Regions from separate parts of the Homo sapiens genome. Here region 2 is linked to region 1. The links are contacts of gene promoters, found by promoter capture Hi-C in human tissues and cell types (Jung and others, 2019). All regions are on one chromosome and are shown on one strand. The core of a region is centred on a gene start or on the middle of the fragment in contact, and the rest is flanking DNA. Distances in the headings are between cores, read along the strand shown.

What was found. Contacts are between HindIII fragments. The study calls those that stand out against the background at their distance.
Region 2: a fragment that was not itself captured here is called in contact with the fragment with the promoter of TMEM74 in region 1 in 2 of the 25 tissues and cell types used here (aorta and neural progenitor cells).

What each region holds. Positions count from the first base shown.
Region 1 is chr8:108,786,054-108,793,807 of GRCh38, forward strand. It overlaps TMEM74 (transmembrane protein 74), which reads right to left and starts at 1,541. Exons shown (of 2, transcript NM_153015.3): 1 at 1,423-1,541. RefSeq lists silencers at 767-1,061, 1,477-1,656. The HindIII fragment of the contact is 13,104 bases long and covers 1-7,754 here.
Region 2 is chr8:108,569,235-108,576,065 of GRCh38, forward strand. It overlaps the pseudogene LOC101060000. Among named protein-coding and RNA genes, the nearest start is that of EMC2, 130 kb to the left of the region's middle. The HindIII fragment of the contact is 7,453 bases long and covers 111-6,831 here.

The DNA of each region.
Region 1 (7,754 bases), core at 291-2,790:
CACAAGAAATTGACCATCTGGATAGTTTTACAAACCCAATCTAGAAGTGAACTGATAATAAAAGACAAACTATAAACCCACAGAGTAAGAGTTCTGTGGAGACAAATAGGTGAGAAGCTATTTCCAAGGTTACCTCTGTAATTTTATAAACATGTCACTCCTCACCCCCGACTGCAGCAAGGGGCATTTCTGGGAGAGAACTTTGGTTTGAGCAGAAAACCATCGGCTTTTCTCTGCCTCTGCCATGTTTCTAAGGAATAAAAATTCACTTTCCACTATCATTAGAGATTTTAACCAAAGGCTCCTTTTATTTTGCTTCCAAATCCAGGGTGATAATTGATTTAACCCAACGGCTTGAGGCTTCTTATAATTCAAAATCCACAGCTCCAAAGCTGGTAACAGAAACACAGGCAAGGGTCACCTAAGGTCAACCTGGCAACTCAAAATATGGGAGAGGGAATTGACATGTTTTCTGCTACACCTAAGAGTTTGTTTAAAACAAAACAAAAAAAGCAAAACAGAAAACGTTTTTCTCCTGTTATCGGAGTTTCTCTACAGTGAAAACAGCAAAAAACAACAGGGCAAAAGAATCACTACTAAACTAGAACAAACCCCCACTAAAGGATCCCTCAATGAATGAAGTGATGGTAACAGGCTTCATCAATTACCGATAACTCTTCTTCCAGTTTTCTCAGGCATTAGGGGCTCTGATTAACCTTTGGTACCATTAACTCATCACACTAGCCTACCTTGGATAAAATCAGCAGGGTTCTTTGAGACTTTCAGTTTATAACAAAAGAAGAGAGAAATCCCCACTTAATTCCCTACGGCCGCCTCTACCTCTCTTTAAAGAAAAGCTACTCCCGCTTGTTCGCTTGTTCTACCGGAGGTATGCTAGCAGCACAGTCGATTTCCTTTGCAGCTCCCTAATCCGGGGTTTCCATTCTCAGTGGAGAATGGATAATCCCAGGGGACCAGCTAAAGACTCTTTTCTTCCGTCCTCTCCCTCTTTTTCCTCTGATCTGCTTAAAAGCCCAGTTAACGACATTGCACCTTAAAGCGAGGGGACACGCACTTTCCCTCGTCCATCTGTCATCAATTAAAAGCATTAATATTTGCTTTAAACTGACACAGGCAAGGCTGATCTCGGGGAGGCGACCTCTGGATGCGCCCTGTGCGAGCAAAGCCGGGAGAGCGAGCCCCAAGCACCTGGCAGCGGTGCCCCCAGCAGGCGCCGAGGAATCCGGCTATCCATTTCTGGTGAACTCTGCGCCCACTGAGGCATTCGAGGTACGGATGTGTCCGCCTAGTACTCGGAGACGAAGGAGAGAGAGCGGGGATATGCGCTCCAGCTCTGCTAGGCTCCAGGGCTCTCACCCTTGCATTCAAAGCCTCCACCCCATCCCACTCCCCGCCACTCACCTTCTGCTTCGGCCACCCGGTGCGGCTCCAGCACCGCGCGCTCTCCCGGCACGGTTCCCGGAGAAAGTCCCCCAATCACCAGCTACGGCACTTGTAGCCTCTGCACGCCGCTCGGCTCCGCCGGGTGGGCAGCGCCCGCCACGGCGGGCGGGGTGGGGCGGGGCGGGGCGCTCCCGGAGCATCCCGGGAGTTGTAGGCCAGGGGCGGTCCCTGCATCCCTCCTGTCTCTGTCTCCTCCCACGCCTTCTGGGTTTTACCCTTCCTGCAGATGAGTTCCCGCCATACCCTCTTACTCCTCCCCAGCACTTAAGAAGACAGCACTGTTTTCTAAGCCTAGAGTGGAGTTCCCTAGCCTCAGGTGTGGCCACAAGACTGTGAAAAGGAAAGTATATTCGACTTCAAATGTGCCAGATAATTTGCATATTTTGTCTTTTTAATAGTCAAAACAAATCTTCCAAGTAGATTTTATTAATCCTCATTTTACAGATGTGGAAACAGGCTCAGAGAGGGTAAGTGCCTCATCCACAGTTACCAACAGCAGCTTCTGAAATTGCATCCAGGAGTCAGATTCGAAAGTCATTGCGTGTCTCACAAAATCAGAAGAAATATGACCATAAGGGGTAAGAGATTGTCCGATGTACCAACACATCCCCTGTATTTAGCACAGTGGTATTCGTTGAATGTATGAATAATAATGACTCAAAATAACAGTTAACATAAATAGCGCTTATTATTGCCAGGCTCTCTTCTAAGCACTATAGATACATTATCTCATTTAATGGTCACAATTTATTGTTAAAGTACTGTAAAAAAAAATCCTCATTTTAACAGAAGGCAAAACTGAGTTACAAAGTAGAATAATTTGCCCAATGTCACACAACTAATACTTAGCAGAGGTGGGGGGGGGGGGATGAACACCAACAGATTCTAAGCGTTATGCTATATGGAATGAATGGAAGAAAGACCAGAAGGCCAGAATAAAAGGGCTCAGGAATAAAGGAAATCTGAAGGTTGAATCTTCTGAGTTGTGACTCTTAGGATAGGACAAGGTAACTGTGTCACCAGCCTCTTTCAACCAGAGTGGACTGCAATAGCCAACAGCCACTGAAAGCCCAGGGTATGTGTAGCTTGCAGATAATCTCCAGTTTTCCAGCATCCTGTTGGGACAATTCTAGGGGAGCAAAAAAGGATTATAGTATGGATGGGCTGGGCACGATGGCTCACGCCAGTAATGCCAGCAATTTGGGAGGCCGAGGCGGGCAGATCACGAGGTCAGAAAATCGAGACCATCCTGGCCAACATGGTGAAACCCCGTCTCTACTAAAATAGAAAAAATTAGCCGGGCGTGGTGGCGCGTGCCTGTACTCCCAGCTACTCAGGAGGCTGAGGCAGGGGAATCGCTTGAAGCCGGAGGCGGAGGTTGCAGTGAGCAGAGATCGTGCCACTGCACCACTCCAGCCTGGCGACAAAGCAAGACTCCGTCTCAAAAAAAAAAAAAAGAAAAAAAGAAAAAAGGGATTAGGGATTATAGTATGTATTATGACATTGTGCTTGTAGCTCACATAAATACTGTGGTTGCTTGCTTTCAAAAGAGAGATCTATCTCCTTTAATGACAATTATGTTGGTATTTCATTACATTGGATAGAATCTATAGTCACATGATTACAGGAGTTCACAATGCTCCCTCTTTAAAATTCTTTTTCCCCCATATGATTATATTTGTAGCCAGTGAGGCCCATTTGTTGATAAACATGACAGATGTATTATGACTTCTCCTTTGCTTACTACACGGTTCTCCAGCATGAATATCTTTCCTCCACTGCCCTATTCCATCCACACTTCAAGGACTAGTTTGTCAAGCCAAATCTACAGGGATGCATCCAGTTCTTAGTACTACATATGCAAAAAGAAATAAAGAGAGAAACTAAGATGTAGAAGGAACTTGAATTTATGTTGACGAGGAAAAACTTAGGAACTTAGGCTATTTAGCCATAGGAGAATACTGAGAGGAAACAATAAACTAGCTTCAAATATTCTGAAGTTTCTAAAAATAGAAGAAGAATTCTATAGTATATTTAAAAGGGTAAAAGCAGAACAAATAACAATAATACTTTTTTGTTAGTGCTATTATGTTATCATCTTTAATTTTTACACCAACTTCACAAGGGAGGCAGTATTATTGCACCCATTTTGCAATGTAGAAATTGAGGCTTGAAAAGATGTAGTTTCTTTTCCAAGGCCTGAAAACTAATATCGGGCAGAGCTAAGGTTCTAACTTGGGTCTGTGTGATTCCAGAGACTTGATCTCTTTGCCAACACATTATACTGAGCAATGCTTCACAATCTTTTTTACAGCAGAGTACACATAAGAGGTGATACTATTTATGGCAATGTGATAAACACAGGAGGTTTCTCATGGCCATAGTTCTGGGGCTGTGGGTACTTCAGTCTCTGCAGGACAGCTTGGAGGGCTAAGGAAATAAATAAGTCAGCACACCTGTGACACACTGGAGTGCTGGAGGATGCCAAAGCACTGATCTGAGAAGCTCTGGATAGCACTATTAAATTTAAGAAGGAGGCTGATTTGAGACTTTGTATAAGGAAGGACATTATTTCTAAAACTTTTAAATTGATGTCTCATGAAAGCAAATTCTCTGGTACTGGTGAGGATTAAAAAAAAAAAGGAGAGCCATTTATTAGTGATTTCATAGAAGGGATTCATCTAGTTGGATTAGAGGACCTCTGTGATTCCCAGGCTGAACTGATTTTAAGTTACTTTTTTTTTTTCCCTGAAGCCTTTTTCTTCCAAGGATTACACCTCCTGTGAACTTTGCTGGGACTTGTCAGTACTGGTGTTTTTGATATTTATCATCCACTGCTTTACGACATTTCTGGAATGGCTAGGTAGCCACTGCATGTGGTTTAACTTCTCACTTAGGTGCCTAAATCTCTAAGGTAATCAATCATAAACTCCTTAAGGTCAGCATCTACATGCTGAACACCTTACCTCCTGCAGAAAGTGCAGTATTTCTGTTGAGAGGGAAGATGTCAAGACTGAACTGAAGACTCGAGATGATTACCTATAATAATACTTGACTGTCTACATATTCTTGAGCATTAAAAATATATCAATTCCAACCAACACCACAAAATCCCCTTTAAAAGTCTGCTGACAAAAAATAGAGATGAACCAATTGAGCACTTGAAAATAAAAGCTCTGCAAAAATTGCCACTTGCTGGAATACTTTCCCCCTCTCTCATAAGTCTATGTCTAAAACTTTCCTGAAAATTGACCCAAGAACCTTTTTCAAAAGCCTTTCTTGTTCAACGTCCTCAACTTATCGTTACCTTTCTAACTGGCTTTCTAGTAGCATAATATGCTTTCTTTTATGCTGTTATTTTAGATATAGAAAAGTATTTCATGTATATTTTATAGTGCTTTCTATGTGATCTCTCCAGATAAAATTTAAGCTCCTTGAGAACCAACATATTCTTTCTATTTCTTTGAAGCTATATGTGGGCATGAAATAGTGCGACACATAGGCAACAGTAGTTCCTCAATATATGCTGATAAAACAATTCACAGTTGTAAAATGTTATCTAGAAATCTACATAATGATTTTGGTCTTACTCTAATTTTAATGTCTCACATTTTCCTGTTTACTTATACTCCGTTTCATGTGAGAGGAGCAATCGTTACTACACTAAGTTAACTAGTTGAAAAATAAGAAAAATTCTGAGAAGTAAATTTACCATGTAAATCAAGGGTAGTGCTGGGACTTTTAACAACCAGCCTCTTGTAATAATTACTGAGGATGTGTTCCAGTTTCTTTTTCTTCAGTAATAATAATAAGGGCTGATTAGTGGACTATTAAGGGATTATTAGTGGAGTTATTATTATGAGAGGCTGGGTCCTAGAGAAGTAAGAAAGACATTTTTGGAATAGGCTGGAGGGAGGATCAGTCATTGAATAGGGATAGCATGAGGAATATGGTCCTATACCCCATACTGGTGCTAAGAATGAAGGTGACCATAATTTAGAGAATGAAGATCTTGTTAATGAACAAGATTCTAGGAACAAAAAAAAGCATTAAATTAGAAAGGTTTCCATTTAATAAGAATGCTTACAGTGGCCAAGTAGGCATGTTACTTAAATAAAGTGGCTGAATACAGACAATAGGGATGGGGAAGATTACCGAAGTTAAGAGCAAGTGCCTTTCCCAAAAGGGGCAGTATCCCCTAACTGTTCTACCTGAGTTTTGTCTTAAGTGAATTTAGACATTAATGAAAGTCAGATATCACAATTTGTTATTCAAAATTCAATGTATTTTAAACCCTTAATGAGTCAGAGAAAAAAAAAATTATTGGGAACATTTGTTTCCCGTAGTAATAGACTAGGTAATTTAGACCTACTCACTGCATTTGGCTTTGAAGAAATGTATTTATATTTGAAACATTTAGAGAACCCAAAATTATTGCATCCAAGGAGCAAAGATTTTTTTTTTCTATCTTTTGGGGAGGGGTGGAAAAGATAGTTTTCTCTTGCTTCTGTATGTAAACACACTAAATTATTTTTTTCTCTTGTTTCTCATCTGTGATACAGACTTCAAAGTTTGTACGCCTAGGACATCTGACCTGGCTTTCACTGTGTTGTGCCAAGGGTAAGAATTGGGATCCAGAGGACCGCATGGTCATTATTTGCTCTTAAGTAAATCATCTGTTTCTGATCCAACACCATGTGTACCTTCAGGATAAAATTAATAAATATGAATATTAAAAACACAACAATAAAACTCAAGAAAAGAAGCTAGCCACTAAAAAATACACAATGTGCAGTTCTATTACATAATTTCATTGATATTTAGTTAGTTAAGAGGCAAACTATACCAAAGTATTTGGAGATGTTAGCAAAACAATAAAGAAAAGCAAGAATGCAGTTACCATAAATGTCAAGAGGTAGGTTGCCTTTGTAAGGGAAGAAAAGAGTAGTGATTCTGAGAAGACTAAAGGGGAGGCTTCTGAGACCTGGCACTATTTCTTGACCCGGATGTGTTTACAAGGGTGTTCTCTTTGAGCTAAATTATCGGAGGTAACCCTCTTTATTTCATGTACTTTTCTATATGCAGTTGTTCATGATAAAAAGCTGTTGGATTGGATTCAGCTGTTGGAGTGGATTCAGGTTCCAAACACCTAATTTGCAATCTCTGCATTAAGGGTTTATATCAAAATCTAAGCGTTCTGTTTTACCTTAAGAAGAACCTGAAGATAGTTTTCTCTGACTTACCTTCACCTGGCATCTTGCTATGCATGGCAGGGTGAGGAGTGTACAAAGGTATGCTATTCAGATTCTCCCGAAACGCTTACAACATTAGGATTTAAAGTAATCTGGGCACTGATATCTCAAAATAAGAAATATGGAAACATTTCATGTCTAATATTTTGTATATAAACTTTATGACACCTTTAGAAAGCACAATATGGGGAGAATATTGGACATTGGTAGAAGGATTTGGGTCTGTTGGTTGCATAAAGGCCCTGTTGTCTTTAGGCCACAGATTTCCTTTATAATTAAACTTACTAGAAACAAGACTGCATTCACTGGCCCTAATCTTGTACCTTCATTTTCTTTTTAATCTACTATTGCTGTTAGGGTCCATGTTAATTTAATTAAGTAAAAAACACAAGTTGACAGCTATGGGTTGAATCTGATCTAAATACATGGTTTTATTGGTGCATTGAGTTGTTACAATTTATTTAGGTATTTATCAAATTTGGAAATTTGGAAGATTTGAGAAAGCTATTTGGATTTCTGGTTTCTCTTGAATTATATGAAAAATCCTGAAACGTGGACCTCACTTTTGTATGTTAACAATTAACTAGAGCTTAGTAGGTTTTGCACTCTGTAGATGGGACATAAAGTATCCAGATTTTCATAGTTCTCACCCTTAACTTATATCTGGCTCAGTTCTCCTACTACTTAGCTTTTGCAGATATGTGGGTTTGCTACCAGTTCCTTAACAGTAAGTCTCCAGAGAGAGGTATTTCACATGAGGCAAAATCAATAACAGGTAGCCTTCTGTGCACTCTTCTGCTATCTCCTTTCCCAACTCTTGCCCAATGCTTTTCTTCCACATTCACTCTTGATTGATGTGTTTTTATTAAATTTAGCCCTTTTTGGCTTGGCATTTTTGATATCTGCTCTATATTTCCTGAGTACCCTTCCATTTGCTCATTTAAATGACTGCTTGCTGCTCACCTCTTCACATGACCTTTTAGGGAACAGAACCATTCCTGATACCATTCTACCATGATCTCAAGAAATGTTTCAATG
Region 2 (6,831 bases), core at 2,587-5,086, 210 kb before region 1:
AAAATACAAAAAATTAGCCAGGCATGGTGGTGGGTGCCTGTGGTCCCAGCCACTTGGGAGGATGAGGCAGGAGAATGGCGTGAACCTGGGAGGTAGAGCTTGCAGTGAGCTGAGGTCGAGCCTCTGTACTCTAGCCTGGGTGATAGAGAGAGACTCTGTCTCAAAAAATAAAAATAAAAAAAATTTTATTTTATATTTCTGCATTATTTAAGCAATAGACTTAACTTGCAAAGATACTTATTTAAACCTATTAGGGTGGTGGGGAAATATACTATATCTAAACTGTAAAAAAAAAGGAAGCCTAAACTTTGAGAAATCATATGCCAATTACCAATTGACATTGTTAGTAATGAATTTATTTTTTAGAGCACACATGTTTCTTTTTTTTCCAACATTATGAATGAACTGCCTTTTGTAAAGCTAATTGGTTTCATTTGTATGGTCATTTCTGAGTCTTCAGGTTACTTAACCTATTAAAAGCTTTCATCAAATGTGATTCATTCCTCCTCCTTGGAATACTTCCTCCAATTGTCTTCTAAGACAAAATTTTCTAATTTTTCTCAGACATTACTTCTTCTTAGTTCCCTTTTTCTGCTTCCTTTTTATCTTCCTGATCTGTAAAGGTTGAAGTGTCCCAGGGCTCAGTTTTTGTGTCTCTTCTTCTCCATTTACTCCAGCATGATACACAATCTGATTAAGTGCTATGGTTTTAAATAACATTTATATGCTTATTACTCTTGAATTTATTTTTATTTGGTTTAAGCATATAAAATTTTTGACAACCATTTTTTGATATACAAATATGGTAATTTAATATGAGTAAATGTAAAAAACTATATATAATGTGCATATATATATATATATGCACTCTATATACATATTGATTTGAACTTCTAAAACATAGGATGTGCAATTAGCTAACTCCTAAATTCTTGTCCTCTAGTCTCCTCATAGAAATCTACTCATCTGATAGTACTTCCTGCATTCTATGAATTCCCAATCTATCATCAAATTCTGTCAATTCTATCTGTAAAATATATCCCAAATCCAATCAATCTTGACCAGTCTTACTGCTCCCAATTTAGCTTTAAACTGTTGTGATACATGAACATAGAGTGTGGAATGATGGAAAATGGACACTCAGAAAGGTGAAAGAGTGAAACGGATGATAAAAAATTACCAAATAGGTACAATGTATGTTATTTGGGTGATGGGTACTCTAAATCTTATTTTACTGGTGCACTATCTATGCATGTAACAAAATCACACTTGTACTCCATACATTTATAACTACACTGTTGTGATAGGCTGTATTAGTCAGGGTTCCCCAGAGAAACAGAACCAACAGGATATGTGTGTGTGTGTGTGTGTATCCTATATATCCCAAAATACACATATATTTTTATTATGGGAATTGGCTCATGCAATCATAGAGGCCCAAAAGTCTAATGATACGCTGTCTGCAAGCTGGGCAACCAGGAAAACTGGTGGTATAATTCAGTCTGAGTCCAAAGGCCTAAGAACTCAGTGTTGGGGAGTGGTGTAAGTCCTGGAATCTGAAGTCTTGCGAACCAGGAGTTCCAACGTCTAAGGAAGGGGGATGAATGCTCCAGCTTAAGAAGAGAGAGAGAGAATTCACCCTTCCTCCATCTTTTTGTTCTATCTAGGTCTTCCAAGGATGGGATGATGCCTGCCCACATTATGGAGAGCAGATCTTCTTTACTTCGTCTACTGATTCAAATGTTAATCTCTTCCAGAAACACCCTTTTCACACATCCAGAACTAACGTTTCACCAGCTATCTAAAAAACCAATGCAGGAGCTTCCCTTCATTGGTCTTTTATTTGTATAACATGTTACTTGAAGAATGAGTCAACTCACTTGTGAAATGTTAGAAACCATGGCTCACTATTGGTGGTAACGTTTGGGTGAAGGGAAGCAGTAGGGCAGAAATTACTCATTTTTTCCTCAGAATATAACTTCTTTGCTATAGTCACAGTGTGTTCTAAGTGGTCCACGGTACTTCTAGTAATGTGCTTTTCCATTTGATAAATATTGTAATTGCTGTACCTTCTCCTCCTTCCTTGGCACACATTCTTTGTGCAGCTTGGACTTACAATTTTAATGATACCACATTATACTGTACTAAAAACCATTTACCTTTATAAATAAACACTGAACTTAGCTAATGGACCAAGGTAATGTCCTTTTTTTTTTTTTTTTTTGAGTCTCGCTTTGTTGCTCAGGCTGTACTGCCTCCCGAGTTCAAGCAATTCTCCTGCCTCAGCCTCATGAGTAGCTGAGACAGGAGTGCGCCACTACGCCCGGCTGATTTTTTTTTTTTTTTTTTTTAGTAGAGATGGATTTTTGCCATGTTGGCCAGGCTAGTCTCGAACTCCTGACCTCAAGTGATCCTCCTGCCTTGACCTCCCAAAGTACTGGGATTATGGGTGTGAGCTACCGTGCCCAGCCCAATGTAATGTCTTGACTCTTCTTCCCTTCGAATGAGTTTCTCTTCAAACAGTATAATGCCTGTGAAGCTAAGCAGGAGTCATTATCCCCAGATTTCTGGGCCACTCCTCAATCCCAAGAGGCCCAGACATGTTTCTCTTACCATCAGTCCCCTGAAATTCTCATGAAAATAAAACCAGTAGGTCTGCCTTCCTCACCTGCCTGCTAAGATATACCTGGAATACTCTTCAAATATTACTAGAAATCGCTTAAAAAATTGAAATGATATGCAAATTTTTACTTTAGACAAAATGAATAAAGATCAGTTGCTGTTATGTTTGGAAGAAAAAATGGGCCACATTATTGTGTAAGTTTATTGGGGGCTATGCATCATTTCCAAATTCAGGAAGTCATGGTTTCCTGCTAGTACAGACTAAAAAGCAGTAGCTGAATGGATTGGTAGAGCTAATTAAGTCATTTAAAATTATTGTTTCCACTTCTTTCAATAAAGGATATATTTATTTTCTTTGTAATATTTAAACACAGCAGTTATAATTTAAATAAACAAGTAAAAGAATGCACAGACTTATTCACAAAGCAAGCTCACTGTTCTATATTTAAAAACTTTTTAGCCGCATTCAATGAATTCCGGTGGGATTTGGTGAGTTTATTTTCTTTTCGGTTTTAATTAGGAAACCCTACTGCATTTGTAGGTAGCTATGCTAGAGGAATAGTTATGTTTTTATTTGATTATATTTGATGTTAGTGATTTTTTATTTAATGAAATTTTAGTGATGTTATTTTGTCAGTTGGATTTTGTTTTTAAAGAGCGGAGCAGGCCGCTGCCACCAGCACAGCGGTGCTGGAGCCTAGAGGAGACCTGGGCCACCACTTCGCCTCCCCTGTATCTCACTGCCAGTCGCCTCTGTCCTGGGACCTGTTCCAACAATCTGTTAAAACATGGTGGATTACTATGAAGTTCTGGGCTTGCAGAGACATGCCTCAACTGAGGATATTAGAAAGGCATATCGAAAACTGGCACTGAAGTAACACCCAGATAAAAATCCTGAGAATAAAGAAGCAGAGAGAAAATTCAAACAAGTAGCCAAGGCCTATGAAGTGCTGTCAGATGCTAAAAAGCGGACATCTGTGAAAAATATGGCAAAGAAAGATTAGTTGGCGGAGAGGAGGTGGAAGTCATTTTGACAGTTCCGTGAGTTTGGCTTCACATTCTGTAACCCAGGTGATGTCTTCAGGGAAGTTTTTGGTGGAAGTTTTTGACTTCTTTGGATTTACTTCATTCAGGTCATGGGGGTCTCACTTCATTCTCTTCCACCTCATTTGGTGGTACTGGGATGGGTAACTTTAAATCTCTATCAACTTCTACTAAAATGGTTGGCAGGAAAATTACTACAAAGAGGATTGTCGAGGATTGTCAAGAAGGAATAGATGTTGAAAAAGACAGCTAGTTAAAGTCCTAAACGATAAAAGGTAAGAAGCAGCTTCTGGCTTGGGTAACAAGTAATTCAATGCATGCATTTAACAGAAATGTTAAATAATAACAAGTGCCATTTGAGGATTAACAGGAACTGTTTTTTTTTTTTTTGTTTTTTTTTTTTTGAGACAAAGTCTCGCTCTGTTGCCCAGGCTGGAGTGCAGTGGTGTTATCTCGGCTCACTGCAACCTCTGCCTCCCGGGTTCAAGTGATTCTCCTGCCTCAGCCTCCCGAGTAGCTGAGACTACAGGTGCATGCCACCAAGCCCAGCTAATTTTTTCGTATTTTTAGCAGAGACAGGGTTTCGCCGTGTTAGCTAGGATGGTCTTGATCGCCTGACCTCGTGATCTGCCCAACTCGGCCTCCCAAAGTGCTGGGATTACAGGCGTGAGCCACCGCACCAGGCCAACAGGAACTTTTTTTTAAAGATTTCAAACAAACACTACTTTCAGTTTAATTGTACCTAATCTAAAGTATTTACAAACAGCTCAACAGAGCCCCTATTTGTCATAGACTTTTGAGTTTATCGTTGGGACCTTTTTTTGTCTTTAAAATTGTTGAAATCTCTGTGTGCACTTTGCCTTTTTATTAAACGTACTCCAAGGTGAGACTTTACCATTTTGTAGTAGGATGAGATTGCATACTAACACCAGCATGGATTTGCTTTCCCGTTGTATCTGAAATGTGAGCCTCCTAGTATTGTCCTGCTGTGAAGTTAACATTGACAGGATGAATCTTCTACAGCAACAGGCTTCAACCTTTTTGGCACCAGGGGCCGGTTTCATGGAAGACAATTTCTCCACGGTTGGAGTGGGGGTTGGGGATGGTTTTGGGATGATTCAAGCACATTACATTTATTGTGTAGTTTATTTCTATGATTATTATTGTTACACTGTAATATATAATGAAATAATTATACGACTCATCTTAATGTAGAATCAGGGGGAGCCCTGAGCTTGTGTTCCTGAAGTCCCATTTGGGAGTGATGGGAGACAGTGACAGATCATCAGGCATTAGCTTCTCATAAGAAGCATGATGCCTAGATCCCTCACATGTGCAGTTCACAGTAGGGTCCACGTTCCTATGAGAATCTAATACTGCACTGATCTGACAGGAGATGGAACTCAGGAGATATTGCCAGCAATGGGGAATGGCTGTAAATACAGATGATGCTTTGCTGGCTTGCCCACTGCTCACCTCCTGCTGTGTGACCCAGTTCCTGCAGGCCACAGACTGCTACAGGTCAGTGGCCCGAGAGTTGGGGACCCCTGTTGTACAGAAATAACTTCAATTTTTTTTTCAGTATTTAGTAGTGAAAGATATTAATTAAATAATGGTAATACATTTTTGGTTTAATATAAATTAAGAATGTTTTCCAGTTGTGCATGAATGCTGGCAACTTGATACGTTTTGACAATTGTTTAAATATGTAATGTTAAGCTTAGGTTTAAAAAAGTATAGCTGTGGCCAGGCACGGTGGCTCACGCCTGTAATCCCAGCACTCTGGGAGGCCGAAGCGGGCGGATCACCTGAGGTCAGGAGTTCAAGACCAGCCTGGCCAATATGGTGAAACCCCGTCTCTACTAAAAATTTAAAAAATTAGCTGGGCATGGTGGTGTGTGCCTGTAGTTCTAGCTACTCAGGAGGCTGAGGCTGGATAATTGCTTGAACCTGGGAGGTGGATGTTGCAGTGAGCCGAGATCACGCCACTGCCGTACAGCCTGGGGGAGAGAGTAGGACTCTGTCTCAAACAAAACAAAACAAAACAAAAAAGGAAAGCTGGTAAGCTGGGTCTTTGTGATTTGCTTAAAAAAATAAAAAAGAAAGAAAATTGATGTGAATGTGTTTGGTGCATTCTTTCCTGAGTGGAAGAAAAAAAAAGAATGGAGCAAATGAAACCAAATATTTACTTAAAGTCATTTTGAATATTGTGCAAGTATGTACTTATTGAGAAAGTTGAACTTTCTCTAAGATAAATCCCCTCCAATGTCTACATTTTAACTGCAGATTAGTTTGAGATTGGGGCCTTGTGAAACAAAATAAGTATTCAGAAAAACTTTCTTTTATTTGTGGTGGTGAGCAGAGGCAAGAAGGAGGGGAAAGGCCTGCAGTAGATGAACCATCCCCTGAGATTTTCTAGGAGGGGCCACTAAGAATTTTCTTTGGATTTTTCAAGTGTAAGGATGTATCTGAATCACTTCATCAGCTCATTCTCTACCATCATAGCCAAGAATGAAAAGACACTGTCAGCAGCCTGGAGTCAGCCATGAAACCGAAGCTCCTCAGGGATGGGTGGCAATACCAGGGTCCCAACAAAAACTTTGTTCCTGGGTAGTTCTCCTCCTTCCTGCAGTTATTAACTCAGAACTTCTTCCTCAACAACTTCTTAAGAGATGATAAATGCATCCCTGGTCTTGTATCTTTCATCCTGAAGTGCACAATGATTGCCTAAGACAAACACTTCATGAACTGTCTCTTCTTGAACTCTCTCATTTCTGCCCTGCTTTTCAGAGTTGACTGACCACTTTCTCTACTTCCCCACACCCTGTTTTCACTTTTACCTCTGTCCCATTTTACCCTTTGAGGCCACCATTCCATTATTAAAAGCATTCTGAGATATTGACCCTTCCATTCTCTTCTTTCATTTCCTTGGTTTACCCTAAACTTAGAATCCTCAGATTCTGGAGCTATAAGGGATCTTAAGGGTTAATTTGCTTCACTGTCTTATAGATGAATAAAGTCCAGAGAAATTAACTGTTCAAGGTTATGTAGCTCCATACGAACACTACTAGGAGTATTTTCACTACATATCTCTCAAGTTTGTTAATATTATTATTATTTTTAGTAATAATTTATATCTTATTTGTTGGCATCATATAATATAGT